Linked DNA regions of Homo sapiens: all the other regions are linked to region 3. Evidence: promoter capture Hi-C in 16 types of primary human blood cells and fetal thymus (Javierre and others, 2016). All regions are on one chromosome and are shown on one strand. The core of a region is centred on a gene start or on the middle of the fragment in contact, and the rest is flanking DNA. Distances in the headings are between cores, read along the strand shown. Region 1 has its middle 51 kb from the start of RASSF6. Region 2 has its middle 18 kb from the start of RASSF6. Region 3 holds the start of CXCL3 (C-X-C motif chemokine ligand 3). Region 4 overlaps RASSF6 (Ras association domain family member 6). Region 5 has its middle 44 kb from the start of UMLILO. Region 6 overlaps INKILN (inflammatory MKL1 (MRTFA) interacting lncRNA). Region 7 overlaps RASSF6 (Ras association domain family member 6).

Evidence for each region. The method cuts DNA at HindIII sites, captures the fragments that hold promoters and counts their contacts. A CHiCAGO score of 5 or more calls a contact.
Region 1: a contact is called between a fragment that was not itself captured here and the fragment with the promoter of CXCL3 in region 3, in 1 of 17 cell types (fetal thymus). The highest score is 8.9, in fetal thymus.
Region 2: a contact is called between a fragment that was not itself captured here and the fragment with the promoter of CXCL3 in region 3, in 1 of 17 cell types (neutrophils). The highest score is 12.7, in neutrophils.
Region 4: a fragment that was not itself captured here is called in contact with the fragment with the promoter of CXCL3 in region 3 in 1 of 17 cell types (fetal thymus); the score reaches 6.9 in fetal thymus.
Region 5: a contact is called between a fragment that was not itself captured here and the fragment with the promoter of CXCL3 in region 3, in 6 of 17 cell types (M0 macrophages, megakaryocytes, M2 macrophages and 3 more). The highest score is 12.6, in M0 macrophages.
Region 6: a fragment that was not itself captured here is called in contact with the fragment with the promoter of CXCL3 in region 3 in 3 of 17 cell types (M0 macrophages, monocytes and M1 macrophages); the score reaches 5.6 in M0 macrophages.
Region 7: a fragment that was not itself captured here is called in contact with the fragment with the promoter of CXCL3 in region 3 in 1 of 17 cell types (fetal thymus); the score reaches 5.8 in fetal thymus.

What each region holds. Positions count from the first base shown.
Region 1 is chr4:73,567,370-73,571,270 of GRCh38, forward strand. No RefSeq gene overlaps it. Among named protein-coding and RNA genes, the nearest start is that of RASSF6, 51 kb to the right of the region's middle. The HindIII fragment of the contact is 197 bases long and covers 2,399-2,595 here.
Region 2 is chr4:73,636,343-73,639,834 of GRCh38, forward strand. No RefSeq gene overlaps it. Among named protein-coding and RNA genes, the nearest start is that of RASSF6, 18 kb to the left of the region's middle. The HindIII fragment of the contact is 4,804 bases long and covers 1-3,492 here.
Region 3 is chr4:74,037,099-74,041,093 of GRCh38, forward strand. CXCL3 (C-X-C motif chemokine ligand 3) reads right to left here and starts at 1,591. Exons shown (of 4, transcript NM_002090.3): 1 at 1,414-1,591; 2 at 1,192-1,315; 3 at 995-1,078; 4 at 1-179. The coding sequence starts at 1,513. The coding sequence ends at 164. It overlaps LOC105377275 (a long non-coding RNA gene), which reads left to right and starts at 1,847. Exons shown (of 2, transcript XR_938875.3): 1 at 1,847-3,849. The HindIII fragment of the contact is 4,426 bases long and covers 1,051-3,995 here.
Region 4 is chr4:73,588,867-73,592,307 of GRCh38, forward strand. All of the region lies in intron 4 of RASSF6 (Ras association domain family member 6), which reads right to left. Among named protein-coding and RNA genes, the nearest start is that of RASSF6, 30 kb to the right of the region's middle. The HindIII fragment of the contact is 1,703 bases long and covers 1,341-3,043 here.
Region 5 is chr4:73,664,973-73,668,711 of GRCh38, forward strand. No RefSeq gene overlaps it. Among named protein-coding and RNA genes, the nearest start is that of UMLILO, 44 kb to the right of the region's middle. The HindIII fragment of the contact is 4,697 bases long and covers 1-3,739 here.
Region 6 is chr4:73,700,485-73,704,286 of GRCh38, forward strand. INKILN (inflammatory MKL1 (MRTFA) interacting lncRNA) reads right to left here. Exons shown (of 3, transcript NR_185098.1): 3 at 1-71. Among named protein-coding and RNA genes, the nearest start is that of UMLILO, 8.0 kb to the right of the region's middle. The HindIII fragment of the contact is 8,798 bases long and covers 1-3,802 here.
Region 7 is chr4:73,609,863-73,613,347 of GRCh38, forward strand. RASSF6 (Ras association domain family member 6) reads right to left here. Exons shown (of 11, transcript NM_177532.5): 2 at 1,869-1,967. The coding sequence starts at 1,933. Among named protein-coding and RNA genes, the nearest start is that of RASSF6, 8.8 kb to the right of the region's middle. The HindIII fragment of the contact is 3,879 bases long and covers 1-3,400 here.

The sequences.
Region 1 (3,901 bases), core at 1,247-3,746, 470 kb before region 3:
TTTGTTTGTACCCATCTTTCTTGAGAAGGCTTGCCAGGTATTCAAAGGGACTTGAGTGTTATGATTTAAGCCAATCTGCATTAGGGGATACCCTAAGCCCGGCAATGTTGTGTTTCTTGCCGGCCTGTGGAAGTATTGCTTTGGTGGTCTTGGAAGAGATCCAGAAGAATTCTCTGGATTACCAGGCATAGATTCTTGTTCTCTTCCCTTACTTTTCCCCAAACAGAGTCTCTCTCTCTCTCTGTGCTGAGCTGCCTGGAGCTTAGGGTGAAATGAAACAAGCACCCCTGTGGCCACCATTACTCGACTGCACTGCATCAGACCTGAAGCCAGCAGAGCACTGGGTCTCACCCAAGTCCACGGTAGTTACCACCTGGTTGCTGCCTATATTCACTCAATGCCCTAGGGCTGTATAATCAGCAGATACTGAAGCCAGGCAGGCTTGTGTCCTTCCCTTCATGGCAGTGAGCTCCCCCAGGCCATGGGTGAGTCCAGAGATGCTGTCCAGGAGCCAAGGCCTGGGATCAAAAATGTTAGAAATCTACCTGATGATTTTTATTCTGTAGCTAAGCTGGCATTCAAATAATGAGACAGTGTCCATCCCTCTCCTCCTCCCTCCCCTTTCCACAGGCAAAGGAATATCTCCCTGTGGCCACCACCACCACAGGCCTACAGGGACTAATGCCAGGCTACCACTGATGTTCATTTAAGGCCCAAGTCCTCTTCTGTCAGCTTGTGGTAATGCTGCCAGGCCAATGACTCACAATTCAGGGCAGTGGGCTCCCATCTGGCCCAGGACCAGTCCAGAAATGCTGTCCAAGTGTCGAGGCCTAAAACTGGGGACCCCACGAGCCTGCTTGATACTCTGCTCCACTGTGGCCAAGCTAGTACAAAACAGAGTCCCCTTTACTTTTCCCTCTGCTTTTCTCATGTAGAAGGAGTCTCTCACCATAGCCACCGTAGCTGGAAACGTGCTCAGTCTCGCCTGAAGCCAGCACATTTCAGAGTCTCAACCAAACCTACAGCATACTACTTGAGTATCATTGCTGGTTATAAAGGGCCCAGGGACCCTTTAGTCAGCAGATGATGAATCCTGCCATGACTGTGTCCTTCCCTTCTAGGCAGTGGGTTCACTTCTGGCCCAGGGAGTGTCTAGAAATGTTGTCAGGGTTTAGGGCCTGGAATGGGGGTCTCATGACTCTGCCTGGTGCTCCATCCTATTGTCGGTGAGCTAGTAACCAAGATGCAAGTCAAAATTCTTTTGATTCTTCCTTCTTCCCTCCTCAAGCACAAGGAAGGAGTCACTTTAGTTGTTGTAAGCTGTGCAGCCTATGGTTGGGAGAAGAGTGTGCAAGCACTCCCTTAGCCACCCTGGCTGGTGTCTCACAAGGTTTTGTGCTGCTTAAATCCACTGCCTCTGACCCCAGCACAGCACTAGGGCTTGCCTAGAAGTTGCAATCCTTGTGGTCTAGACTGCATTTCATGTTTTTTTTAGCATCCCAGAGAACTTCAGCCCATGGTTCTGAGGCTTGCTGCAACTCAGATTCCAATGACTGAGACAGGCAATTTCCCTGTGGCTAGGGCTTGTCTAAATGCTCCCGCCATGGGTAGAAATGGGATGAATTCAGTATGGTTCTGCTTTCTACTGTGACAAGGTAGCACTAAGTTAAATGTAAAATCTCATAATCCTTGTGCTCTCCTTCTCCCAAGTGCACAGATTCTCCACACCATACAGCTGCTGGGGGATGGAGGATGGGTGGTTTCTGCAAGACTGTCTTTCCTACCCTCTTAATGCCTCTTTCAGTGATATGAAATTAAAACCAGGTATTTTGATTGCTCATCTGATTTTTGGTTCTTATGAAGGTTTTTTCTTTTTTTCTTTTTCTTTGTGTGTGTGTGTGTGTGTGTGTAAATCATTGTTAAATTTGGTGTTCCTGTTTGGTGGAGAAGAATGATGATTGGTGGAGGCTTCTATTTGGCCAATTTGTTCTGCCCTTCCCAGCTAAGTCTTAGACATTTTTCTATTTTGTGATCATATGTATTTAGGTTTTTACTTTTTTTTGTCTTTTTTTTTTCCTCACAAATGTAATTATTTGTTTGTTTGCTTTTCCTAAGGGTCCAAATGGATCAAAAAGTACTAGTGTCTATGGGGAGCTTAAATGATCCCAGAAAATGTCAATGTAGGATCTTTGATGAGATCTACACTTATTCTTATAAATCATCAAACATATCTAATATTCAAAATAAGAATCAACAAAATAAATTTTCAGGTGCTCACAAAGTTGCTCAAGAACACTGGCCAGTCTACACTGAAATTGTCCTTTCTTACCCAGCAGAGAAATCTAATTATTGTAACCCTCAGAAAACCCACCGTAATTACCCCTCTCTCTCAACAACAAGCTTTCTTCTTCTCAAGAGCAGAAACAGAAACATGAAATCAAACAGCTTTCAAAGGGCTCAGGTAGATGTGATGGGCTCTCACACCAAGCTGGGAATTGTCTGCCAAGTTTCCACAGTGAACAAAACCCTAAAAGCAACTTGGAGTTTTTGTCTATGCCAATACTGAAAATGTTTATTGCCAAACTGAATGAAATAAGCTTCATAATAAAGTTACCTTCCTAATCATAAGCTTCATAATAAAGTTACCTTCCTAAAGGTTTCACCTTTAATCTTTACCCTAAATATGTGATGCTGTATTGGCACCAATACAATATAATGCACTTAAATTAATTTGAGCTTGAAGTGATTATTTGTGATAGTACTTTTTTTCTTTGGAAATCTTTCTGCAAAAGACATAAAGAACTGATGGGTATCATTTGGACTTGTTTTTATTTTTCCAGATATTTTTGTATAAAAGATAAAGTAAAACTAAGTGCTTAAATAAATGAATTATTTTGATTAGAGAACTATAAAAAAATTAATTATCATTCTAATACCCTTTCCTTGAGTTTAATTATTTTTCCTCACTTCAGTGACTTCAACACATTCATATGCATTAGTGAATTAGATCCAATAAACATTTGCTGAGTACCTAATGCATTCAATACACTGTGCTAGATACTACAAGGAATAATACAAATATGAATATGATTTCACCAGATCACTAATGCATTTATACAAGATATAAGCACATAAAGAATTATAATAAAAGGCAAATTTCAAAATTCTGGTGTCACAAGAGCAGAGCTAACTGAAACTGTGGTACACAGGAGCTTGAGATCACACATTGTTACAGAGACCAGGAAAGGTAATGGAAGAAGGGACCCTAACCAGGGACTAGAAAATGGGAATGTTTCAACAGAAAGAGATGTGCTAAAGTGTGCAGTGTTTCAGGGAAGGCTGAGTGATTTAGTTTGGCTGGTTTTAAGACAAAAATGACATAGCTGTGGGCAGTAAGTCTTAGTAGAAGATAAGGCTACGATGGTGGTTGGGGAATATACTGAAGTTTAATTATAACATAGCTAATATTTATCACATTCTTATGTGCAAAGTGCCAGGCTTTACATGTGCTATTCTTGTAACTCCCCCAACTGTCCAATGAAGTAGGTACTATTATTCCACTTAAAAATGAGGACACATTTTAGAATGGCAGATTCGGGAAGCATAGTTCGGGGGAAGCCACAGATTATGGTGGTTAACTGTATGGCTTCTGGAGCCATAAGTTTAAATCCTACCTATTTCTTCTACTAAAAACCTTGGCAAATCTCCTAACTGCTCCATGGCTTACTTTCTTTATCTGTAGCATGAGGTTGAAAGAATAATTTCCTTATGGAATTGTAATGAATATTAAACGTAGTGCCCAGCAAATAAGTTGTTATTAGTTTGAACAATATGAAATCATTGCCTTTGTAGGTCAAATATTGGCAATTTCAAATGGCTCAATCTAATAGGTATTAGATGT
Region 2 (3,492 bases), core at 694-3,193, 400 kb before region 3:
GAAGCATAGAAGGGACATACCTCAAAATAATAACAGCCATATTTGACAAGCCCACAGCCAACATTATACTGAATGGGAAAAAAGTTGAAAGCATTTTCCCATAGAACAGGAATAAGACAAAGATGTCCACTTTCTCTATTTCTATTTAGAATAGTACTAGAAGTCCTAGCCAGAAGAGTTAGGCAAGAGAAAGAAAGAAAGAAAGAAAGAAAGAAAGAAAGAAAGAAAGAAAGAAAGAAAGAAAGAAAGAAAGAAAGAAAGAGAGAGAGAGAGAGAGAGAGAGAGAGAGAGAAAGAAAGAAAGAAAGAAAGAAAGAGGGAAAGAAAGAAAGAAAGAAAGAAAGAAAGAAAGAAAGAAAGAAAGGAAGGAAGGAAGAAAGAAAAGAAAGAAAAGGGAAGGAAGGGAACAGAAGGGAAGGGAAGGGAAGGAAAGGAAAGGAAAGGAAAGGAAAGGAAAGGAAAGGAAAGGAAAGGAAAGGAAAGGAAGGGAAGGGAAAGGAAAGGAAAGAAAGAGAGGAAGGAAGGAAGGAATTCAAATTGGAAAAGAGGAAGTCAAACTATGACTGTTCATTGATGATATAATCATAGACCCCCAGAAAACCCTAAAGATTCTTCCAAACGACCCCTAGATTTGATGAATAAATTCAGTAAAGTCTTAGGTTACAAAATCAATGTACAAAAATTAGTAGCATTGCTATATACCAACAATGACCAAGCTGATAATAAAATCAAGAACTCAATTCATTTTACAATAGCCGCCAAAAAATAATTCTTGGAATATACTTAACCAAGGAGGTGAAAGATCTTTAAAAGGGGAACCACAAAACATTGCAGAAAGAAATCACAAATGACACAAATAAATGAAAAAACATCCCACGTTGTGGATTGGAGGAGTCAATATCATAAAAATGGCCATACTGCCCAAAGCAATCTACAGATGCAATGGAATTCCTATCAAGATACCGACACATTTTTTTTTTTACAGAGGTGGAAAAAACAATCCTAAAATTTATATGGAACCAAGAAAGAGCCTGAATAGCCAGAGCACTCCTAAGCAAAATGAAATAATCTGGAGGCATCATATTACCTGCCTTCAATTTATACTACAAGGCTATAATTACCAATACAGCATGGTATTGGTATAAATGTGGACACACAGACTAATGGAACAGAACAGAAAACCCAGAAATAAAGTCAAATACTTCTAAGCAACTGATCTTCAACAAAGCATACAAAAACATAATTCTGGAAAGGACACCTTATTTAATAAATGGTGCAGGGAAAACTGGATAACCACATGTAGAAGAATGATCTGGGCCCTTATATCTCACTTTATACAAAAATCAACTTAAATCTAAGACCTGAAACCATAAGAATTCTAGAAGATAACCAAGGAAAATCTCTCCTGGACATTGGCCTAGAAAAATAAGTTATGACTAAGACCCCAAAAGCAAATGCAACAAAAACAAAAATAAATAAATGGGACCTAATTAGGCTAAAAAAACTTCCATTAGGCAAAAGAAATATTCATCAGAATAAACAGACAACCCACAGAATAGGAGAAAATATTTGCAAACTACCATTGAACAAATGACTAATATCCAGAATGTACAAGGAACTCAAACAAATCAGCAAGAAAAAATTCAATTAAAAAAGGGACAAATGACATGAATAGATATTTCATGAAAGAAGATATACAAAAGGCCAACAAACATATGAAAAAAATGCTCAACATCACTAATCATCAGAGATATGTAAATTAAAACCACAGTGAGATATTATCTTACTTCTACAAGAATGGCCATTATTAAACAGTCAAAAAACAATAGATATTGGTATCGATATCGATTTGGTGAAAAGGGGACACTTACACACTGCTATTGGGAATGTAAATTAGAATAACCTCTATAGAAATCACTATAGAGGTTTCTTAAAGAACTAAAAGTATATATACCATTTGATTCAGCAAATGGTAGATATACCAGATACTGCTAGTATTTACCCAAAGGAAAAGAAGTCATTACATCAAAAAGACATTTTCTTGTGTATGTTTCTTGCAGCACAATTCACAATTGCAAAGACATGGAACCAACCTAAGTGCTCGTTGCCCAATGAGTGGATAAATAAAATGGTATATACACACCATGCAATACTAGTCAGCCATAAAAAAGAATAAAAAAATATATTTTGCAGTAGCTTGGAGGAGCTAGAGGCCATTATTCTAAGTGAACTAAATCAGGAATGGAAAACCAAATACCATATATTCTCACTTATAAGTGAGAGCTAAGCTACGGGTACACGAAGGCATGCAGAGTGGTATAATGGGCTTTGGAGATTTAGAAGGAGGGGATGAGATGGGGGCTGAGGATAAAATACTACATATTGGGTAAACTGAATACTACTTGGGTTACAGGTGCACTAAAATCTTATACTTCACCACTGTACGATTCATCCATGTAATCAAAAACCACTTGTACCCCCAAAGCTATTGAAATTCAAAAATAGTTTTAAAAATGTTATAAACCATTGATTGTAGTTTTTAGATGGATTCACAACTGCTTTCTGTCCCATCCTTAATAACTCTAGTTACAAGTGGGTCATAGGTGCTTGCATAGTTTCAGAAAATAGGAGACAGTTGAGTTTATGTTGATTACAGCCACAACAAACAGCTCCTGGAGCATATCCTGTTTGCAATAAGGGATCCTTCCTGGGCTAAATTCTTGTGATGTCAAGCAGATCATGGTATACTGACAGAAGTAAGGTAAGCACTTGAGTGATGTAATTATATACCTTATGGGCAGTGTCTGCATGTATATTATGAAAACACACAGTGAAATAAATACTACTCTATCTGAGCCACTCTTATTTAGGCTATGTAGTTTTCCCCTCTAATTTTCACAGTTTACCTTTGCTTTTGGCATCTAATGTTCTGTGCTTTTTCTGCTTTTATTTCATGTTGGTCCAACAATCCCAGGAATCTTGAGTAGTTCCCAAATTTTGGGGGCACTATGACCTATTTCTTCTGTTTAAATAAACTTTATGGAGGCTTAATTTAGATTGTGTGAATAAAATTTACTATACCACACTTTCTCAACTGAATTTTGCTACTTTTGTAGAAAATAATCTGTTCATTTGTATGTAGATCTTTTCCAGAAAATTATCCTGTTTCATGGATACATTTGCCTAACATTATCTCAATACCACATAACATTGATTACGCTTCCTTTATAATATACCTTGCAGTCAGGTTGTATTAATTATCTAATATTATTATTATTTTGCAAAGTTGTTTTGCTCTTCTAGGTTCTTTGAATTTCCATATAAATTTTAGGATTAGCTTGCCATTTTTTACTTAAAAATTTAGCTGATATATGTGTCATATATGAACATATATATAATTTTTAATTTTTTGTGAGTACATAGTAGGGTGTGTATATTTTGGGGTTACATGAGATATTTTGATACAGGCATGCAATACACAGTAATCACATCG
Region 3 (3,995 bases), core at 341-2,840:
AAATAAGTAGAACCCTCGTAAGAAATAGTCAAACACATTAAGTCCTTTCCAGCTGTCCCTAGAAAGCTGCTGTTCTCTTTTTCATTTTCAGCTCTGGTAAGGGCAGGGACCACCCTGCAGGAAGTGTCAATGATACGCTGATAAGCTTCTTACTTCTCTCCTGTCAGTTGGTGCTCCCCCTGTGATGAGAAAAGGGTTACTGTTGCAGGTGCTAAGGAAGGCTGCTCTTCTGTCACTCTGAAGTTGCTTGGAGGGATGTCCCCATGCAGACTCTCTCCCAGCCCTCCACTCAGGGAAGGTCTGTCTGTACCCACTGCCTTCTATAGCAGAAAACTTGCACTCCTGAATGCTTTTTTTTTTTTTTTCAAGAAAGAAGTGGCTGTGGACTCAACTAGATTCTTGGTTTGAAAAAGCCAAAACATATTGGTCACTGATTGTCACATTGGGTTAGAAATGTCCATTCATGATCTCCCTTAAGCTGCACACAACCCTATGAAATAACTACCATTATCTACCCTATTTTGCTAAAGCTCAAAGAGATTAAATAACGTTGACAGGGATCCTAGCCTTGAACTCACTGAAGGTGTTACTGCAAAGTTTCTGCTCTTCACCAAGAAGGCTTACAGGCCCAAAGTGCCCAAACCAGACATTGCATTTTTCAGGTCTGAAGCCCATTAGGGACTGAGGTAAACGTCCCAAAACAGGCAGGGGGCATTTTGGCATTGTTAGTCAAATTTACTTAGTATTCTAGAAACCCACATTTACCCTCCCAGGGGTTAGGCCTGGAAATGGAAGACACTGAAATACTGAAATATCCTCTGGCACCAGAGCAGATTAATAACCTTAATGGCAACTTTAATTGTGAAAATAATAATCACAATTTCTAGTCCTTCAGCTAACTCTTGGGGTTCCCTGATTTTATTTTTAGGGGGCAGATGCCAGTATTTCTGACCAACGGCTCCAGTCGCCTGTGTATATGGAAATTACAACTCACTTGTTCAGTATCTTTTCGATGATTTTCTGAACCATGGGGGATGCGGGGTTGAGACAAGCTTTCTTCCCATTCTTGAGTGTGGCTCTGCAGAGAGAAGGGAATTCCGTGAGACAGGAGGTCGGGCTGGGGACAGGGTTGGGGCAGCGGGAGAGTCGGGGACCCCAGCGGTGGCAGCGGAAGCGCGGGGCGGGACTTACATGACTTCGGTTTGGGCGCAGTGGGGTCCGGGGGACCTTACATTCACACTTTGGATGTTCTTGAGGTGAATTCCCTGCAGTGTCTGCAAGCACTGGCAGCGCAGTTCAGTGACCACGGACGCTCCTAGGGAAGAATAGACTCGCTGATTGAGCGGGGCTGTCGGCGCGGGGCGCCCACCCCAGCCGCGTCCGGCCCGGGGACCCCAGGGCGCCGGGACCCACCTGCTGCGCGCCGGCTGGCGGCCACCAGGAGCAGGAGCAGCAGCGCCACCCGCAGGAGCCGGGGATTGCTGGGGGCGGCGGAGAGCGTGGCGTGGGCCATGGGGCTCAGCAGACGCGTCGGGAAGCTGTGCGAGAAGCGGGAGAGCTGGCGGGGAGGTGCCTGCGACCCGGGCTGTGTGGCTCCCCAAGATCGGCGAACCCTTTTTATGCATGGTTGAGACTGGAAAGCCCGGAGCGGCCGGGCCAGGGAAATTCCCGGAGCTCCAGATCGATCCGGAGTCCCGAAGGAAGGCGACGGCCCCGCCCCCGGGGTGGAGTCGGATACGGGTAGGGGGAGCCCACTGGTGACGCCTACGCCTCGCCCTCCAGAGTAACCCCCGTGCACTCTGGGACTTTGGGATATTCATTTTCTGCCCCAAATTCCTGGAGAGGCAGTGAGTCCACCTCGCTGAAGATACAGCCTGTGAGGGGGGACCTTAGGTCCCCGATGACCCCCCGCGTACGGGGTAGGGTTGGAGGAAAGAGCTGGGGGGACCCGTGAGAACCAGGACAGGAAAGGCACGACTTCTTTAGAGGAAGAGAGCTTTGTCTCCTTAGTTATCAGATTTGCTGGGGACCCGGAGACAGGCGAGTTTTCCCTCAGCTATCCTCTCTCTATATAGTCTATCCTCTATGTTAACCTCCCGGTCTCTGCCTCTCTCATTTTCGGTTTAGCGTTATTTCATGTACATCTAACATCATGCTCTCTGTGAAAGTACAGCCATCGTCTCGGATTCCAGAGAAGAATGTTCTACTTGTTCCTTGTTTTGCATATTCTCTAATCACACTTAGAATACCTTGTTTACGTTTTCCATTTGGTGGCAACAGATTATCAGTGTCAAAATTTGAATTCAGTGTTAGTGTCCGTGGAAGCCAGGGCTGTATAACATGACCTCTTCTTTTGTATCCTGCATAACGTCCTTCCTCCCTCTGAAATGTTGGAACTTCCTAAATCCCCTGGAGACCTTCTCCCAGTGGGAGGGATTCAGATTTGATCTAGAAATATGACACTGGCTGTCACTCTGAAGCTGTGGAGGGGCTGGGTCCAGCAGGATCATGGGCTCAATGTTTCTGGTTCTGTCTTTGCGAATGACACTAGAGAGTAGGTACCTGGTGTGCAAACACCATTCCCACTGAAGGAGCAAACAGCTGCCTGCTGATGACATTTAAACACCAGATCACACATAAAATCACATTTCATTTACTATAGAATTTTCTGGTATTCAGCACTGGGGGATCTTTCTCTGGAAACATTAACAGGGCACTTTTTTTTCTCGTCTGGATTTTCAGTCTTTTAACCTGACACCTTTGTCCCTTTTTCTAGTTTTAGATAATGTATTTTGATTTGTCATTAGGTTTTAGAGGGTTTAAGTGTGATTCTACAAGTTGGTCTCAGACCTCTTTGAGACGTGGAGTAGGATGGAGGAGAGGAGAAAGGAATGGCATCTGCCTGAAGCACAGGGCTCTACACAACCCAGCTCAAGGGATAAGAGTCCTTGCCCCTAACCAAACACAGAGCGTGCAACTGTGCTGCCTGTATTTAGTTGCAGAGTATCACTTGCAAGTTGTTAAGCCTCTCTGTGCCTAGCCCAAGGTGGTTATGAGAAATGAGTTAACATTTGTAAGAGACAACATGGATTAAGTGCCTTATTAATGGTTGTTAAATAAATAAAATGGACTATTTCCATTTTTAAAAGGCTATTTCTTTCCCGACATTGCCTGAACAAAAACTCAGCCTGCTATGAATTCTGTAAAGGAAAAAAGAAGAATCTAATGGAAAGTTTTACTCCCCAGTGTTTTTCACATTTAAAATTTTCTGTATCCCTTACTGCCACCCAACTCTCCCTGTCTCTAACTGATATAAAGCAGTGTGAGTCCTTAAGAAATCAAAGCACATCCTAGAAAGAAGAATGTTCATATAAACACCACAATCCCAGTTTCCAAAATGGTCTTGTAGTTACTGGTGCTCACGGGTATCTGTGATGTCATTACAATAATCTTGGACAAGGGATAGAAAGGTGTGCTAGAATGTCCTGTTACTTTAAAATAGACACTATAGGTAATATATATGCTCCATTCTTTTTCAATAATTTCCTCTCTCACATCTCCCTGACTACTTAAATTCCTTGAAAGAAAGGATAGATACAGAAAAAACATTGACCCAATGGAGGCCAAAATAGTGTCCCAAATGTCTTCTGCAGTTTCAAGCTGTAATAAATGCTGCAAACTTATAAATGAAAAATAAAGTTCAATTGGGAATTTATAAAAAACAAAAAAGTTAAATGTTTTTAATTTAGGAAGGCTTTCAGAAAGGAAGACACATCTGTACTTTACCAGGAGATGCACATAGATGGGAGGTCATTAAAAATTTGCTTGTTTTTCTTCAGCAAACATAAGGTAAATGATAAGAGCTTACAAGATTCTGGGTAAATGTGGAACATGCTGCTTTTTTATTTAATAACTTCATGCTATGGGCAAGTTAAACCTCTGCACCAGAGACAAGGGGCAGAGAATTTATTTAATGCTCTTCTAAGCATTTTACA
Region 4 (3,441 bases), core at 942-3,441, 450 kb before region 3:
GACCCAAGGTGTTCCTGGATCTCTCTAGGCAAATGGTTGCTATTATCTAAGAATCTCTTCAGTAATGTCTGTTTTTCTTATGACTAAAATATATTCACTTATAGGGAATTTATGGCATTGACTCTGCCCGAATTTCATTGGTGGCAACAAAAAATATTTATTAATACTAATGGTAGTGAATATGAAGAAAGTCATCCCTTATCCTCTTTACTTTTGAATTCTTTTGAAGCGTGTTTTATGGCTACTATATCATTTGAGTCTCACAATAGCCTTATGATGTAGAGAAGGTAATCCTAATATATTTGTTAATTTTCCAGCAAGCTGTACTATTCAGAATACAGCCAATCAAAACAAATGTCATAAAGCCCAACTACAGGTAATAACTTTAACTCAAAGGAAAACTACCAGGTCCTGACTCAGAATCTAATTAGTCTTATGGCAGATAAAATTACCCATTTCCCCAAATCTATAGCAGCTTAATAATCAGAAAGTGGCAGACATAATTATCGTAGAAGGGGGGTTAGGAATGGAAAAGTCAATACCAATGAAAAACAGAAACTAAAAATGCAAAGTAACCTGATGCTATGTCATAGGGCTAAAGATAAGAATCCCCAGGATGCCAGTCAAATTCTCGGTGACCCTCGCAGACGTGACAGCTTAGTTTTGTCACACAAATATAGGAGGCCAAAAGTCATCCAATATATTCTGTGTTTGGCCCCTTATTTTTTTCTACCATCTACAGCAGAAAACACCAGTTTTCAGCTCTGGATTGTGTAATTTGAAGCATCACCCCATACAACTGTGCACATGACTAAGCTTCAGGGCAGTTATCCAGAGTTTTCAAGAGAAAACTGGTTGGAACTTTATGTAATATCAAATAGTTTAACTTGCCCAAACATGGGACTTCTGTTGCTCTGACTAAAGTTCAGGATGTATATCATTTGCAAATTTAAATGATGGGGAGGTTTTCTAAGGAGTTTAAAAATAAAAAGGAGGTAGAAATTTGATAGACAAATAGAATATGGTCACTTCCCTACCCATACTGTAAGTAAAAAAACACCACTGACGTTATTCAAATGTACACCTGTCCAGTTTGTGCTCTTTATGTTATTCTGTCATGACTTGTCCAAAATATGCAAAAGCTGAGTTTTGAAAGATATTAAAAACAGATGTGAAAAATAGCATAAGCAAACACAACCTTAACAAGGCTGTTCTTCTCTTTTGTTATGAAAGATTTCCAAAACACTTGTGCCAGATATGAGAGATCAAAGTACTGCCCATAGAATTGTTTCCATAAAGAATAACAAGTGGTCAGAGCTCAAAAAAACTGATTTTTTAAAAGCTTCTTCACTCCAATTAAGCTGATACTTCCTCTGTGTGACTCATTTCAAACATAATTAAACTAATGTGACAAGACCAATGATTCCGTCAAAGAGAGAACTGAAAGACACAAGATTATAGCCCTTCCTGCAGCTGAAGTTCTATTGTCATTTACCCCACGTTTACCCACTGCAGATATAAAATCTGTCATCCTGCAAGAGCAGAGGTGTAAGTTTTGCCTAGAGGTGCCCACTATGGGAAAAAGAAAATAGTTTAAAAGTAAGAAAACAGTAAATTTCTTTTCACAATTAAAGGCTGAGAATTAAAATAGATGTTATCTTAAATGAGACAACCAGAGGGAGGGTGTCTAGAACTGGATTGAAACAACAAAAGTGATACCTTAGGTGGCTATGCACCCCATTAGCGAACCAGAAACCAGGGAAAAGCCACTTCAAATTGTGCTGTGCCTTCCTGCCTGAGTGTTCAGCTGGCTCCCAGGAAGTACTCTTGGCTAATTAATGACAACCAAATCTAATCTTGCTCTTGTTTGCGTGTGGTTCTGTGTGTATGTAAAAGGAATGGGATCTTTTTCTGCCAAATGTTCTACAGTTAATCTTGTTACTGGAAAAGGACAAGCCAGTCAAGGTTTCTAGGTAATTTTTCTCCACTTTAAACAAAAAGAGCCAATTCCTGTTTGCTTCACAGCAATGTACTAATAAACAATGCAAAATGTAAATGGATCCTATAGCAGGTGTATCATGAGGATATTATTTTAGAACCTGTGGCAGTATATGGAGAGGCATATTACCTTGTCCACCTGGGCTCTTGAAACTCATCCAAAAATTCAGAATTGCTAGGAACAAGTGTTTTAAATTTGAGAAGTTAAAAAATATCATGGTTAATAATAATATATTGCATACTTCAAAAGAGTTAAATAAGAGAATTTTTTATATTCTCTATTCTCACCACAAAAAATGATAAATATTTGAGATGATTGATATGTTAATTAGCCTGTTTGGTTCATTCTGCAATGTACATATGCATAAAAACATGTATCCCACAAATTTATAGAATTATTATTTGTCAATTAAAAATAAAATAAAACTTAAAACATATCTTGGTAAAGCCATACAAAATAATGATGGTTTAAGGTGATACTAAAATTACCTTACTTCATTTCTGTGGCATTTTCCTTTAATGTTTGATATTTATTACATTTTCATGAATTAAAAAATTAAAATGCATCAAATAGATGTGACTGCTCAGAGAATTTTGCAATGAGGTCTTAGGTAATATGAAGTATGGTAGTTAATTTTATAAATCCGTATCTTGTACAGTTTTCGGAAAGCAGAGCCCAAGAGTAATTTTTCCTTTTAAATGATGCTCCTTGTCATTTAGAATCATAAGCCCCATCAGTCATCAGGTACCTGAAGTGAGAAATGTGGGGCTCTCTCAGGCTGCTGGAGGCTGCTGCCTCCCTTCCGTTCTTCCTTAGGCCCTGAGCCCTAAGCTCCTTGGCAATCCTTAGCTTGGATGGGAGACGAGATAGATAGAGGGACTAAGTAGTGACAACAAAGCAGAGGTAATTTAACCACAGGCTTCTGGGGATTTTGCTCTATACTATGGTTTGAATCTCCTCTTTGTGCCAGGCACACAGTTGGGCACTGGGATGAATAAAGCAAATAAAACAAAGATGAATAAAGCACATTCCCTACCACCGAGAAGCTTGCACTATAGACAAGGAGATAAGTATACAAAAATACAATTGACTGCATGTGTGTCAAGTGATATAGAAAAGTTTTCAGTGAGCCTCGTATAGACTGAGGGGTCAGAAATGGCTTTCTGGAGAACATGTTACCTCACCTGCGTCTTAAAGGACTGGTGGAAGAGACTCAGGCAAATGGATGTGGAGAAGCAGGGAGACTTCTAGGCAGAGTCAGGAAAATTAGAAATTGCATGAAATGTGTAGGGAATTACAAAACATTCAGCATGGCAGTAGCATAATTTTTGAGAAATATTGGCAAGGTGAAAATCATAGTCGGGCTTAAATATTTTTTCCAAAGGAAAAGCAGACTTCTGTCAAGGTGATAATTAATTTTCCCTAGTTGTGGCCAAATATTA
Region 5 (3,739 bases), core at 512-3,011, 370 kb before region 3:
AAATGATCATAATTTCATCAGAAAAAGGGAGTTGTTAAAGTATTTGACATAACTCTAACACCTCCAGAAGTTTATTTGACTGCTCTGGAAAGTTTTTAAAGACAATCATTTTGCACAACCAAAAATCAAGAAGGATACTGGTAGTGTTTGTTTAGATTCAAAACGATCAAGAATTGTTGATCCTTCTGATATTTGGATTTGAATCCCTAAAGCAGCTTTAAACCAAACTGTCTGTTTGGATCATTTGGCTAAACTTCACTGGTCAGAATATTACTTGCTGCTCTACATCTGACCTTGACTTAGGGCATAGGAAGCAGAAACTCCGGGACAAATCTGGGACTTGCCCAGTGTATGTTATAGAAATATTCACTTTAGTGGTCTGCAGAGACACCCTTCAAAGAACATAGCCAGGATATTAAATATCCATTTCTTACTTTCTTAGTTTTTTAATTCATTAGAGCTGGAACAGAAGACCAAGAGAATTGTAGGGACCAGCCCCACAGGGTCGGTGGGTTTTTCTCCCCATGTGTGGAGATGAGAGATTGTAGAAATAAAGACACAAGACAAAGAGATAAAAGAAAAGGCAGCTGGGCCCAGGGCACCACTACCACCAAGACATGGAGACCGGTAGTGGCCCCAAATGCCAGGCTGTGCTGATATTTATTGGATACAAGACATAGGGGTAGGGTAAGGAGTGTGAGCCATCTCCAATGATAGGTAAGGTCACGTGGGTCACGTGTCCACTGGACAGGGGGCCCTTCCCTGTTTGGCAGCTGAGGCGGAGAGAGGAGACAGCTTACACCATTATTTCTGCATATCAGAGACTTTTAGTACTTTAACCAATTTTGCTACTGCTATCTAAAAGGCAGAGCCAGGTGCACAGGATGGAACATGACAGCAGACTAGGAGCATGACCACTGAAGCACAGCATCACAGGGAGACAGGCCTCCGGATAACTGTGGGTGGGCCTGACTGATGTCAGGCCCTCCTCAAGAGGTGGAGAAGTAGAGTCTTCTCTAAACTCCCCCAGGGAAAGGGAGACTCCCTTTCCTGGTCTGCTAAGTAGCGGGTGTTTTTCCTTGGCACTGACGCTACCACTAGACCATGGTCCACTTGGCAACAGGCGTCTTCCCAGATGCTGGCGTTACCGCTAGACCAAGGAGCCCTCTAGTGGCCCTGTCTGGACTTGACAGAGGGCTCACACTCTTGTCTTCTGGTCACTTCTCACCATGTCTCCTCAGCTCCTATCTCTGTATGGCCTGGCTTTTCCTAGGTTATGATTGTAGAGCGAGGATTATTATAATATTGGAATAAAGCGTAATTGCTACAAACTAATGATTAATGATATTCATGTATAATCATGTCTATGATCTAGATCTAGTATAACTCTTGTTGTTTTATATATTTTATTATATTGGAACAGCTCGTGCCCTCGGTCTCTTGCCTTGGCACCTGATTGGCTTGCCACCCACATCTGCCCCCTTTTTATTAACTAGGATCGCCATCACCATCATTGCTTGTCGTTGACTTTGGACTTGTTTCCGGACTCCTTGGAGGCATCTGCAGACTAAAAGAGACAACATAAGCATACCAGTATTAATAATGCCAGTGACAACAATGATTCTCCAAGGGGTTTGATCCATTTAAAGGGATTAAGATCAGATAATTCTTTAGTTATTCCTTCAAAAATGTCTGAGCCAGGAACAGTGGATAAATGAGCCTGTGAAGCCTCAAAAATTTGTTCTTTAAGTTTTGAAATATCCAAGGTTAAGTTATCATCCCAGGCTTTTAAATGTCTTGAGAACTTTTCCCAGCTATGCTGATCTTTATTATAAGCATAAGGCATTATGCAGTAATCAGAAGTATTCCAATCACACTGTAATTGCATACGGTGTTCCAAATTCATAACTCTATTTCCCAATCATATCACACGTTGGCAGAGATCATTAATTTGATTAGCTAATTTTTGATCAATTTGAGCCTTAGAATTCCAAAGTCTGGAGGAGTTTTTTTGCCATGCTTCAACACATTGAGTGGTTTGAACGGAATTGTGAATCATAACTCCAGCAGTTGCCACTGTTGCAGTAACCGCAATTAGACCTGCAATGACTGCAATAAGAGTAAAAATAAATCTCTTTGTTCTTTTGAGGATACCTTTAAGAACTTCATTGACTATGTATATAGAGGGGGAAGACTCCCACGGATGATGTAAAGAAACTGGTATCCATACCCCCTCCCTAGCACTTACCAAGAGAATACTTGTTGTGGGATTAAAAGTAGCATCAATGCACGTGAACAGCTTACAATTATCACATTCTATAGTTTGTGTACTGGGAATGATAATTATATTTCTAACTAACAGCAGGTGAGTGGTTTTGACACAACTCCTGATGGGTATTACCTGTTTAGATATCAAGGTGATGTTGAATGTGGGTGTTTTGGTATTAGTGTGAAGGAGTTGATAAGTAGTGTTCCATATCCTTATTCCTGTTATAGCTGCAGCTAATTTCCATAATTCAGGATGTTCTGGGGTAACAATGGGATGAATCATTTTTGGTCTAGGAGGAACAATGCCTGCGTCCATCCATTTAAATGGGTAAGGAGACACCTATTGTCTCAACCTGTATGACTGCCATCCATCCTTTATATAATCTAACAAATAATTATACTCCGAGCATGAGGTATTTTTGCTGGAGCAATCCTGCGAATAATGCTCTTTTGGAGCCCAATCAATAACAGTTCCCATGGCTAGACTTTGCAGCACAATGGCCTTGGGAGCATTACAATCATTCCATAAAATTGAATTCAGTAGAAAAGTTCCCTTTGTAGGTTTCTTTGGGCAGTCTGGCAGTCCTTTTGTTTTATTGCTGTTAGTAGTGACAGGAGCCCTCAATTCCTCAAGAGGCTTAAGTTTAACAGTGAGAAGTTGAAAAGAATTGCTACTGAACACATTATGTACTTGATAAGAATCATTTGTTAAGGATGGTACGGTCCACATCCAATTCTGGTAAGAATAAGCTAAACAGCCAGGTGATACACAGTGGTGGGTATTTATAGCCAAATGACAGATTAAAGTGCATACCTTCTTCTTCCGGTTGAGCTGGAAACCTATCATCATTAGGGACCGGCATGAATGCACTATTATTAGTGTAAACTTCTACTGAGGAGTCCATCCAGGAGACAGACCAAATTAAAGGGGGAAAAGGAACATATGCCCAGTGGGTATAATTTTGAGTTGCCCCAACTGGTGGTATACTTACTGCTGCACTGACTACCATAAAGACAGCCAGAATTATATTACTGGTCGTTTTTGGGATTCCTTTTTCTTTTAATAAATTTTCTGTGTGATGGGATAAGACCTTTATTTGACCCCATGTTGGTGGAGTTGAACGAGTGGTGTTGTAGGTCACACAGCGAGATTTTGTCTCAATGTCGAGGTCATGAAGTTTATGTGTCAGGAGGCGAAATTTCCTCCTCGGTTTTTGAGGGGTCTTTGCCTTTTGTTTCTGGGAACGTTTCATCTTTGGAGTTATGGTGCAATTTCAGTTGTCGGTGGGGGAGACCCACATGGGCTGTAGTCCTTTTCCTGGGGAAACACAAGCAAAACCCCTACCCCATGTTACGACTGTGCCTAATTCCTATTTGTTAGTTGCATCCTTCCACCATACCCGCATTCCTTTTTGTGGATCAAATTTACTTCCAGTGAAATGTTGTTCTGCCACTGTAAAAGGTTGATTTC
Region 6 (3,802 bases), core at 749-3,248, 340 kb before region 3:
CCAATGACAGCTTCCGAGGGGAAATCATGTTTCAGCTTAGTCTTGAAGAATGCACAGTAAACTCTGCATCCCTGGTGGACAAGACAGTTGAGGACATTTCATGTGGAAGAAAAGGAAGGAAAGAGATTGTGAAAAAAAGAGATCATTACAGCAACTCTTGATATTTAATATGTCAAGTCCTCTTTCTTTGTTCTTAGTTCCATTGGGTAATTTTCTATATATATGTTGATATCAATTTGTTTTAATCAGATAATTGACCGAGGAAACATATATATATATATATATATTTTTTTTTTTTCGAGACAGAGTCTTACTCTGTCACCCAGGCTGGAGTGCAGTGGCGCGATCTCAGCTCACTGCAAGCTCCGCCTCCCGGGTTCACGCCATTCTCCTGCCTCAGCCTCCCGAGTAGCTGGAACTACGGGGGCCACCACAACGTCTGGCTAATTTTTTTGTATTTTTAGTAGAGACGGGGTTTCACCATGTTAGCTAGGATGGTCTCCATCTCCTGACCTCGTGATCCACCCGCCTTGGCCTCCCAAAGTAATGGGATTACAGGTGTGAGCCACCACGCCCGGCTGGAAACATAACTTTTAATAACCTCAGAAATAGACTACTGTATGAACACTTGATATGAAAGAGGTAGCATCATATAACGTGGAAAAAGGTGCTGGGACAATTGAGTACCTGTATGGGAAAAAATCAAACTGGACCCTGTATTGTATGCCGTGGTGCCCTTCCCAGTTCTCCCCTTCAGAGTGATGACACTAATTGTTCCAGCTGCAATATTGCTGGTTGACAGGTCGCAGCTGAATCACTCCTCAGGAATTGCCCTTGGCCTAAAGGAGCTGCCTTGCTGAAGGCTGTGGTCCCTCCCTGAAGGCAGCTCACATCGAGACTAGCTGATGTGGGGATACAAATTCTATCAATTTGAGACAAGCTGAAAGCTATTATGGGACCTGCCAAGGCCTCCACTGCATATGCTTCACCATTCGTTTCTCCTCTGCCCAAATCTGCCTTCCTCACCTTTTTTCAGGTACAGTTCCCATGCTCATGGTCCAATAAACCACATGTTTACAAATCACCATCTCAGAGATCTTCCCAGGGAGGTCTACCTAAGACCCCTAACTTACACCATACCCCACAATCAGCTCCAGGTAAATTAAAACTAAAGTACAGAAAGATGGAAATAATTTGCACAAGGTTATACATCTGAACGAGAAAAGAGCTGAGATTTAAACCTGAGAAGTCTGGCTCTAGAGTCTCTGCTCTTAATCCCTAATGGCAAATAAAATAAACCACTTATGGCTGCATGGAATGTCATGGATGAATTACACAAACACATTGTGGAGCAAATGAAGCAAGGCACAAAAAAATACAAAAAGTATGATTTCACTTACGTGAAGCACAAAAGCAGGCAACATAAGTTGGATTGTTTAGAAATGCATACACAGATAGTAAAGATATAAAGAAAGGCAAAGGAATGACTATGGAAAAAATCAGGAGGTGATTACTCAAAGGGAACAGGAAGAGGTGAAATAGGGGAGAGGGTTCTGAGAATGTTGGTAATGTGTTATTTCTTCATCTGAATGGTGGTTACACATATGAACATTTACCATTTATTTGTGTTTAACATTTATAATAATGGTTTTAAACTATAGGTATGTGTTCTTTTCTTTCTTTCTTTTTCTTTTTTTTTTTTTTTGAGATGGAGTCTTGCTCTTGTTGCCCAGGCTAGAGTGTAATGGAGAGGTCTCTGCTTACTGCAACCTCCACCTCCCGAGTTCAAGCGATTCTCCTGCCTCAGCCTCCCAAGTAGCTGGGATTTACAGGCATGTGCCACCATGTCCGGTTAATTTTTGTATTGTTAATAGAGATGGGGTTTCACCATGTTGGCCAGGCTGGTCTTGAACTCCTGACCTCAGATGATCCACCTGCCTCGGCCTCCCAAAGTGCTGGGATTACAGGTGTGAGCCATTGCACCCAGCCAGATATGTGTTCTTTTCACTTTTTTTTGTGAATGTGACATATCTTACAATTAAAAAATTGGAATAGAGAAATCCATGGTGAGAGGTGAGATGACTGCAGTAGAGAACCCTGTGAAAGATATGCTAAGGGTCAGGGTCACAGGGCTCTGTGTATAAGTGTTAGAGAGGGTTTTACTTCTTTTCTCTTCAGCCTTCACCATAAAATTTTGCAGAAGCCTTCACAAGTTGTCTGGTTATGAGCAAGCAACTCTGAAGTCCTGGTGATCCAGAGAGGTGTTGCTTCTGATCTCTTTTCACTATGGAGCCACAGAGAGCTGAACTTCCCATCTCCCAGGGGAGCTTTGAGGCCCATGTTTTAATTTGCCTGCCTAGCTTTCTCTCCTGCATGGCGTTAGGCATCTCGGAGGCAACATTCTAAAACAAAACTCATCAGTAGCAGGATGAGCCTTGAAAATTCTTTCTTTTTCTTCCTGAGATTGAGTTCATATAGCATGAAATCATAAGGAAAACAAACATCCTTGTAACATAATCACACATGAGATGGCCACAAGATCTGAGTAGTATGAAAGGTCTGATTACCTTGCAGGTACTACTTCCCTCCAGGACAGCTCCCTCTCATCCTTTGCTCCTATGTCATTTGGCAGGCAAAGAGTTGGGGATAAAGGGCTAATACTGAGGTTAAAAGGAGGGAACCACTGGAAGTCCTGAGCAAAGGGGGTTTGGGGTAGAAGAAAAGAGTAGGATGAGGGGTATGAGGGTCCTTAACCAACTTTAGGGAGTTGACCAACTGAGTGAACTGAAAGTCAACAACTGTGATATTGCAACAGTATGAGAAATGTGTGCCCAAGGCAGTGACTAGGGTTCAGACACCACCCTGGACTCCCAAGTCATTCCTACCTTATATTTTTGTAATTCTTTCCAGATATTTGTCAAACTAAGATTTAGGCCATGTAGGACAAGGATTGATCTGTTCCCTGTCATCCTCAATGGGAACACAGTTCTGGAGGCTCCACATACATTCAGTTTACCGACTCTACAAGCACATGTTAAGCATCAAGTATCTGAATAGGGCTCTGAAAGCCACAGATAGCACAATTCTTTCTATCAAGGAGCTCACAGTGTGGCTGAGGAGGCAACAGGCTATCTGACAAGGAGAGTGCCAAGCCCTTCTCAGGATGTGGGATAGGTCTCAGGGATAGCCCCTGTCTTAAAGAGTATACCTATGAGTTAAAATACATAATCATGAAAGAGAAAACTGAGATGAAGGAGTGTTAGACTTGAAGTAAGAGTTTTGGAAAAAAATTCTAGGAGAAATAGTTGAAGAGCTGAGTTTTGAAAACGAGTAGTTATTATTGTTACATTGAATTTAATTATCTTTCTGAAAAAAAGTTTTCTTTAAATTTATATTTTTTTCTTCTCACAGCTTTTATAGTGTCGTGCTTTGAATCCAGTAAGTGCATAAGGAATTGGGGAAGGACGTTTGGGGAAGGGGCTGGAGTAGTTTTAAAGGTTAAGACTTCCAGAAGGGACATGTAAGCATACATATATAAGCATTTATTTCTTTCAAATATGACTTCTTGGGCAATTAATGGAATAACACTTTAATTAAAGTCCTTTTATGATAACATAGAGCAGTGGAGCATGGCTAGGAAAAATGAAGAATCATACTCTTTCCTATCTTGATTCTTCAATGGATTCTTGAAAAAGTGTAAGAAGAGGTAAACTCATTATTTGATAGTTTAGAAACCTAGCCAACTCTGCAGGCATTTATCAAGACATTTCAATTGTTTGGTTTTATGAAAGTCTTTGTTTCC
Region 7 (3,485 bases), core at 211-2,710, 430 kb before region 3:
GGTCAGAAGTTCTCAGAACTTTAATCCTTTCCTATGGTGAGAATTTGTTCTCAGTACTTCAGTATGCATCAGAATCACATGATTAGTTCTGGGGTGAAGCCAAGGGTCTATACTGTGAACAGGCATCTGAGTCAGAAGCAGGTGGTCCATGGACCTCATTTTTAAGAAATGCTTCTTATTCAATCTCAAATGTAATGTGTCCAGAACTGAATTCCGGATCCTCAACTGCAAACCTGCTCCTCCTGTAGCTCCTGCTTCTCCTCATGATTTCAGAAAATGTTAACTCCATTTTTCTAGATCAAAATTTTTAGAATTATCCTTGGTTATTCTCTTTCTCTCACACCCATGTCTAACCCTTCTGGAAATCCTATTGTGTTGGTCTTCAAACTATATCCAGAATCTGACCATTGTTTTCTACCTCTACTGCTGCCACCTTGGTTCAAGCAACCTTCATCTCCACCCTGGACTGTCAGCTCCTTGGTAACTTCTCTGTTTCCACTCTTGTCCCCTCTCTACTCTGTTCTTAACACAGCAGCTAGACTGATATTGCCACTCATGTGCTCAATATCCTTCCACAGCTTCTCATCTTATTTAGTGGGAAAGATCAAGCCTCATAATGGCCTATCAAACCCTACATGTTCTGAGCCCATTTGGCTTCTTCTCCTGCTGTCTTTCTACTTCCATTTCCCCACACTGTTCTCCCTGACCCTTACAAATATGCATCTGCCTTAGGGCTGTGGAGTTGCCATTCCCCTTGCCTGGAATACCTGCGAAAGCTGCATGGCTTGCTTTCTCCCTTTCTGCAGGCTTTTCCTCCAGTGCTTCCCGCTCACTGAGGAAGGAACTAGGTTATATGCAATCAGAACCCTTTCCGCTCTCTATCTCTAGCACTCTTTACTCCATTTCCTCAGCATTTATCTTATGTATTGACTGCATCCCGACTTTATGATGTAACTCCATGAGAGTAAGGGTTTTGTTTGGTTCATTACTGAATGCTCAGGGTCCAAAAATACACCTGCTCACAGTGAGTAATCAGTAAGTGTTTGAGGAATAAGTCAGTGGATCCTTTATCCTTTGCATCAGGTCTTTTTCCCACTGCTTATAGTTCATCCTTATCTTTCAGCTGTGGCTTTATTTCCATATTTGATCATATTTGTTTCCTTCACTTTCCTACTGCCCAACCCTGCATCATTCACTTCTCCTTCTCTCTGTCATTTATTTGGCTTTTTTCCTTTTTCCACCCCCCATAAGATTTGGGTCATGTTTCAGTACCACTTATTTTTTCATGATTTCATCTCCTCTCAGCCCCCAGCCTCTGCTGTAGCTTGGCCAGTTTCAGTTTTCATCTCTACTCTTATAGCTTTTAAGCCCTTACTCTATTGTTCCCAAAGCAATATGAGATACTGTTTGCTGCGTACAAGAAAAGCTGTGGATGTTGGCCATATATTGCATAATCTAATGTCAAGAGGGAACCAGTAAAAATAAAGTGTCATGAGGAGCAAGGGATGGAGAGGTTAGGACAGGACATAATGTTTTTGGCCCTGGGGTTAATTCTTTAGAACTATCATTTATGAGAAGCCTTAGATCTTTCACCTAATGCTGCTCTTCAATATTATCCCAACTATTAAAACAGAAATGTTGCTTTTAATAAAGTAAAACCACTGTTAAACAAAATATTAGTGATTGTTCCATGAGAGTAAATTTGAGAGTCTTTAGGAACATACTTTTCCAACTTCTTATCTAGTATCTCTACTGATGATTCATATTATTGATCTTGTTGACCATACATCATGCTTAGAAAACTTTGACGGTATATTCCACAAATGACTGGTGAGTAGGACAATGTATAATATAAGGTGTGTGGTTACCTGGTTATGAATGTCTTCTCATTAATGAAGATCCAAGAGGGGTACTGGTGAGCCATCATAGTCATCTTTTCCTCCTTTTTGAGATGGTCTGAGGATATCCTAAACATGAGAATAATATTAATGATTTGTTCCTATAATGCATTAAAAAATTAGTTTCTGATTTAAGTTGAGTGTTTTGTTGTGTCTCTAGAGTATAAGAAGGTTTTAGAAAGTTTTTAAGTAGTATGTCATGTGTGAGCAAAAATACAGAAAAATGTATTATGTAAATGAAAAACTACAGAAACAGTAACTCCAGACACGGATGGATTGAACAATTTGGTAAGTCTGTTTTAGATATATTTCTAGCAAAATAAATATGACTCTATTGATTTATATAATTCTGTATAAGGGAGCATATTCCTTCTATTGCAATAACTCACCCAAACTGGCTGAACCTTGCCCCAATCAGCAGAAGACAACTGCAATTCTAGGCAGCTAAAATCAAGCTCTGACTTGAAGAGTTGATTAGGTATGATGTAATATTTTTCAAGTCTCCTTCAAGCTCTGGAAACTGTGGTCAGATGTGAATAATCTCCTCCTTTATATGTTCATATAAATGGCATTAGGGTGTGACCAGAGATGTAAAGTATAATATTTTCTGTTCATTCCATTTTGCAAAAATTGAATATTCAGTTATCATGGCTCCAAGTCTATAAGATTTTAGGGGATAGAGCCAGAATAAAAAAGATGGATGAGAGAGTTCAGTTTTCTTTTTTTTTTTTTTTTAAAAAAAAAAACGTTGTGTATAAGGGGGTGGATTTCCTCCTTTTCCTTTCAAATCTGGTTATTTGGGTTGGGTAAGATGAATAAAAATTAGGAAATTATATGTCCTAACTCTTCAGAGTACCAGGAAAAAAAGAAAACAGGAAAGCTATTCTTCTATTCTCATAAAATCTCTGATGCATATTTTTCTTTATAGCATGTTGTTAAACTCACTAGGTACTTTGTTACAGTTTTCAGGGTGAATGCTTGGCTGGAGTCTCATTTTAGGCTTTTATCATTCCGATCATCCCATCACCTATTTGGTCACAAACCATCTTGGTATCTTTCTTAATAAATACAGCCCAAGTCCCTTAACCTGACTCTCAAGTTTTCTTCAATTCCACTCAAACCTACCTTTCCAGGCTCCAAATTGAAACATTTCTTCAACACCAGGCCTTGTAATCTAATGAAATTTCATGTCATTGAGTCTTTTCTCACCCATTTCCCCTGGCAGCAGAGGGCCCTCCTCACTGCAGGTCCAGATATCTGGTCCCTTTTAGTCCCCAGTGGGAAATCTTAAAGTCTCCCCATGTCCTTTGAATCCACACTGTTGTCATCATTCTGCTTTCTACCTTGTATTGTCATTATTGATTTATACCTTACTTTCTTTTCTATTGCTATCTTCTTGCTCAAAGAATTGTGCTTCTCTAGTTGGAAATGGCATCCTCTGATAGCACATCATTGGCAGGTCTCATGCAGGACACCTGGAGGACTCATACCAGAGACACAGAAGCTTAGTCACCAGGCAAAGTAATTCTATACGTCAGAAGCCACATGGGCATTTTATGCTGCCTTGGGCACACAGACACAACATGC